2 separate regions of the Homo sapiens genome follow, and region 1 is linked to region 2. Evidence: promoter capture Hi-C in 16 types of primary human blood cells and fetal thymus (Javierre and others, 2016). All regions are on one chromosome and are shown on one strand. The core of a region is centred on a gene start or on the middle of the fragment in contact, and the rest is flanking DNA. Distances in the headings are between cores, read along the strand shown.

Region 1 (2,700 bases), core at 168-2,667, 550 kb after region 2:
CTCAAATCATTAAAAATTAAAGAAATAATTTTATTATTCATATTTGCTTAATTTACATAACCAGAGCTTCACATCTATGTCAGGATATGAGTAAAAGTGATATTATTATCCATATTGACTAAATAGAACCCAAATACCACGAAGTTTGAATGGCAGCATGAGGGTCCTTAGTAGTCGCGTAGAACAGGAATGAGAACTTCTACCTCTCCATCCTTAGGTTAGAGCTCTTTTATTTATGACACTTGTTCTGTTTAAATACACCTACCATCTTGCTACAATTATTTCAATTGTTCCAACCTTTATGGCAATACATACTTTCAACACATGTTTAGTGAATACCCACCAAGTGCAGGCACTATTCTGGAAGTTGGGGATACAACCATGAACAAGCCTGACAAAATCCTTTCTCTTGCAAAGCTTACATATTACTAGGGGAGAACAATAAACAAATAAATAAGTAAAGGTATGGTAGATTGGTTGACAATAATAAATTAGAATCAGGGAGGGAGAGGAATACTAGAGGTACAAATGGTGTTATGATGTCTTTTTTTTTTTTTTTACAGGGCAATCATGGAGGTCTTCATAGAAATGAATTGAGCAGATACCTATGAAACTTGAAAAAGCAATGTGAAATCTAGGGGAAGAACTTTATAGAGGGAACAGCAATTTGAGATTATTTCTCTTGTGAGTCTAAATCGAAAGAGAGGTCAAATAACATTTGTGAGGAAGGATATATCCTCTCATGGGCCTAAAAGTAAATAGGTTTTTTCCCCCCCCGACCAGGTAGCTTAATTTGTAAAAGAACAAATTTTGATCTGATATTATAGAGGGAAAAATACGTGTTGCTCTTGAACTTAAGAAGATGAACAACAACAAAATAAGCAATAATAATAAGCAACAACAAAAAAGCAATAATATAAACTACTTATATTCTAGAAGGTAGAAGGCTACCCTTTAAATCATCCAAAACCCAGAGACATTAAAACTATACACAAATGATTACTGTAAATAGGCACCCTTGCATGTGCTGCCATCTTGTGGTACAGGAGAAAAGTGTTATTATTTGACTGTATTAATGACTACTACCCACGTTCTTAGTTGACCACATCTGTGTCCTGGGAGAGAAAAGTATGCTTTATAACTGATCTTTAAGATTAAATACCTTTGAATTAAATTAACATTGTATAAAGCAACTTAAAAGTGTAAATTATGAAAATAAAGACTTTATCAGCTTGACTGTTTAAAAATTACTTCACAATACATAAATTTTTTTCACAATGCACAATACATAATTTTAAGCTTAATCTCAATATCGTGTAATACCCAACTCAACCTCTTTCTCTACTTAGGCAGATCTTGTCTTTCATTCTTGTTTAATTGCTTTCTATATGTTATACAAGATACACAATGATAGTTTTCACTCTTCCCCAGTCCACTTTTGTACTATTTAGCCCTACATGACTTGAATGGACTGGTTGCCTGGGTAATTATGAGCAGTGTACTTGGAAGAATAGGATTCCTGAGGGGAAGCTTCCCAAGAAAGCGAATTAATCTATCTTGGAAAGTAACTCCCTTGTCTCCTGGAGTGTTAAAGAACATCTCCTATGGTATGTCATTATGACACATTTGTCTTAAGAGAAAAAATGTTTGAGAGATTGCTTTATGGTAACACCTAGTCACAGATTTAACCTTTGCCTCCATCTGAAAGAAAAGTTGGCCAGCAAACCAAAAGTCTGGGAGAAGCCATCAAGAGGTCAAAATTGTGCAAGACTCCTTGTTTACTTGAACCATCTTACAGAGTCATTCCTTCAGATTCACATAATTTTCCCTTAGTTCAACATACAAAGCAAGACATTTAAGTTAAGTCTACTCATCTATATAGCGCTCTGTGTTCCTGCTCACACCTGACCCCAGATCCACCACTTTAAAATATTGTGTGTGTCACTGGGGCCTGTCGGGCAGTGGGGGGCTAGGGGAGGGATAGCATTAGGAGAAATACCTAATGTAGATGATGGGTTGATGGGCGCAGCAGACCACCATGGCACATGTATACCTATGTAACAAACCTGCACATTCTGCACATGTATCCCAGAACTTAAAGTATAACAAAAAAAATTTAAAAAAAAATATATGTGTGTATGTGGTGATGAGGTCTCTCTATGTTGTCCAGGAGATGAGGTCTCTCTGTGTTGACCAGGCTGGTCTTGAACTTCTGGCCTCAAGTGATCCTCCCACCTTGGTCTCCCAAAGTGCTGGGATTACAGGCATAAGCTACCACACACGGCCTCATCATTTTTATTTTGCAATGGATTGCTACATGGTGCATCTTACAGACCAATCTTATGTCATCTACTAGACAGTATTTTTATATTGTCAAAAGGTATTACATTTACGTTTGGTTCTATAATGGTAACTACCCGTTGTTTAACCTTGGTTTCAATTTAAACAGATTTCAGTGTTTATGGCAGAGATGGCCAGCGGGCCTCCTATATCTACTCTTCACTCCTTGTCTGTTAGAAGTAACAGAAATCCCAACATTCACTTGCACACTCAGTGCCCAGAATGAAGAGTGCATTTCCCAGCCTTCTAGACATGGCTATATGACTAAGTTCTAGCCCATGAAAAGGAAGCATAAGTGTTGAGTGATTCCTTCTGGGGGCCTTTATTAAAAGACAGCTTGCACCCTATATGTTTCTTTTT
Region 2 (2,700 bases), core at 201-2,700:
CCACAGGTGCTGAAAGAAGCCAGCGAGCCAGGGTGCCGCAGCACAGCTCCGGTGTAGAAGCAGCCTGCGTCTGGTGGCGCGGGAGGTTGCGGGGCGGATGCTGCCCCCGTGGGGCCGGGGCCGGGATTTGGCCGCTGTTCCACTGCGAAGCGCGGCGCCAGGAAGCGGCCGTCTCTCCGGAGCAGCAGGTACAGGTCCCGAGAGAAGGCCGGGATCCGCAGCAACACTTCGTCGCCATCCGGCTCGGCATGCTGGGCCGGGGGCGGGGACGGGGGCGGCTGCGGGGGAGGCGGCGGCTGCCACGAGGCCGGGGCGCCCGGGGACAAGGCGGCAGCCCCGCTGGATCCCCGCGGCAGCTCCTGCGACTCGAGCTCCTCGTCCTCCTCACCCTCCGACGGCGGCGGGGGCCGGAGCCGGGACTCTGATCGGCCCTCCACGGGCTCCTCCAAAGGCACCGGAGCCACAGAGCGCACCTCGCGTGAGCTGCCGGCAGCCTGCGCCCGGGCGCTTCCGCCGCCCCCAACGCCGCGCACCCAGCCCGGGTCCGCGCTGCCCCCGCTGCCGCCAGCCGGGTCCACCGGCTCCCGGCGCCAGAGCGCAGGAAACACGACTTCCCACTCCTCGCGGTCGGGGGCGAACTGCAGCTCTGCGGGCGGGGCAGACAGAAGTGCGGGGCTTAAAGTGCCGCGGTTCCAGTAGCACAAACATTTCCAAGCTCACAGTCCATAGATACAGGGCGCTCGCGTTGAATGCAATGGAGACCACCCGTCTAGACCCTGAAACTCTGCAACCCCAGAAGCCTTGCGATCAGATTACAGACCCCAGCATTTTCAGAGTAAAAGTACGATTATATTAGGGGCGGGGGAGGGGGAATCAAAGTTTGGTGACCGCACTTCATTGTTGAAAAGAAAACCGATGCAAAGACTCCAGCACGAGTAAACGATTTCTGAAGTGTATGCTAGAGCAGAGCGTTGCTATCAACTTAGGTACGTTCTAATTTTCCTCCAGGTGCTGTAAACGTACCTTTGCAAATATTATTGCTCTAATTAGAAGGAAACTATTCCACATACGGTTAAAACGAGGCCGGCAGAAGTGTGCTTCATTTCCGAACTTGACCCCTTAACCTGCACCTCAAGCTCATTTTTATTGCTACCCACTGAGCCCTGCTCTCCACGCACCGGTTGCACCAGCCCTGCCGACCCGTACGTTCGCGGTCTCCGCTGGGATGGCTGGAAAGGAAGCGAGAAAGTCACGGAAGAACTTACCTGAAACGATCCCATTCGACAGGAACCCCAGCTGGTAAAGGAGGCAGCAGCAGCAGATGTGAGTCAGGCGCATCTCGCGGTTCTTCCCCATACTGCGCTCCCGCGGCCGCGGCTTCTCGCCCGGCGCACGCCTCCAGCGCGATCCACTCCGGGGCGCAGCGGCCTCCCCGGAGCGCTAGGAGGCCGGGCGGCGAATTTGCCCAGGCCCTTTGTCTGCCGGGGGAGGGGGTGTTGGGGTGGGGGGGTAGGCTGTGTGACTCCGGGAGGCCGCCGAAGCCCTGGCGGGGGTGGGGTGGGGTCGGGTTGGGGGAGGAGCGGGGGAGGCAGCCCCGCGGCCCCGCAGCCCTCGAGCTCCCTGGCGAATTAGGAGATGAGTCTATTTTCTGTGTTCTGGACGCTGCAGGAGTTTCCGAGGCCGAGCAGGCTAGTGCTGGAGCCCCACAAGACAGACCCACAGCCAGCCGAGAGCCGGGAGTGCTGCCTCTGGACAGGCAGAGGACTGCCCGGCGCGGGCAGGAGAGCTGTGGTGTCCGAGCCGAGGCTCGCCGCCTGCACCCGCGCGGAACGGGCGGAGGCTGGTGTCACAGTCTCAGCAACTTGGTGTGCCAAGCTCCGCACACTCCTCACGCTCCTTAGGACGCACCGCTGAAGGCTCTCACCCGCAGCGGCGCGGGAGGGAATGAGTAGGGAGATGGGAAGACACGACTAGAGAGGTGGGTTGTAGAGCAGAAAAGAATCAAGCACATCTGACCAGAAAAAGGGACCAAGGGGTGCCCGCCAAGCGTGACTTTGCGGGACAAAGGTCCCAGAACACCGTGCACGTGCTCAAACGCCGGTTGGGATGGGGTGGGGACCCAAAATCCCTCACCTGACTATTGATTGGCCACTCGGGAAGGCCTGATTTGCATCCATCCCCTGCCCCCGTGTGCAGGTAGAGGTGCCTCCCCCTTCCCATCCCACTCCTCAATCCAGCGCCTCTTTTTGTCAAATTCGCACATCACACAAGGCAAAAATTAGTGCAGACTTGACCACAAAACTGAGGCCTCATTTATCAAAGGCCTTTGATTTGTCTTCCCATCTTTTTCGGAATTTTCTAAGCCCGGAGATAATGTAATTCGTCATGGAATATGCTTTAAAGTTTCCCAGGACAGTAGGCACCCTTAGGTTTCAGAGCCTCTTTTCCTTCCTTGTCTTTCTAGCTCCCCATTCATCAGTACTATCAGTTTCTCTCCTTCCCCTACCCCACCCCATTACACACACACACACACACACACACACACACACACACACACGAGTCCTAAAAGGAGTAAGAGTAAGGGAATCAACATTAAACATTATATTCTAAAGATCTCAGACCAGGTGAGATTATTTTGTCTTCTGTACTTTTTACTTGTACATAAAAAAATATGTTTTTGCTGTTTCTGTCCTCTTTGGG

The links. Contacts are between HindIII fragments. The CHiCAGO score rates a contact against its expected background, and 5 or more counts as called.
Region 1: a contact is called between a fragment that was not itself captured here and the fragment with the promoter of ADAMTS19 in region 2, in 3 of 17 cell types (megakaryocytes, total CD4 T cells and erythroblasts). The highest score is 7.4, in megakaryocytes.

What each region holds. Positions count from the first base shown.
Region 1 is chr5:128,904,045-128,906,744 of GRCh38, reverse strand. The region is part of intron 6 of LOC105379168 (a long non-coding RNA gene); the gene reads right to left. Among named protein-coding and RNA genes, the nearest start is that of SLC27A6, 60 kb to the left of the region's middle. The HindIII fragment of the contact is 231 bases long and covers 1,302-1,532 here.
Region 2 is chr5:129,459,048-129,461,747 of GRCh38, reverse strand. It overlaps ADAMTS19 (ADAM metallopeptidase with thrombospondin type 1 motif 19), which reads right to left and starts at 1,450. Exons shown (of 23, transcript NM_133638.6): 1 at 1,266-1,450; 2 at 1-646. The coding sequence starts at 1,356. ADAMTS19-AS1 (ADAMTS19 antisense RNA 1) reads left to right here and starts at 1,059. Exons shown (of 2, transcript NR_125748.1): 1 at 1,059-1,323; 2 at 1,669-2,189. RefSeq lists an enhancer at 1,529-2,491. The HindIII fragment of the contact is 6,646 bases long and covers 1-2,700 here.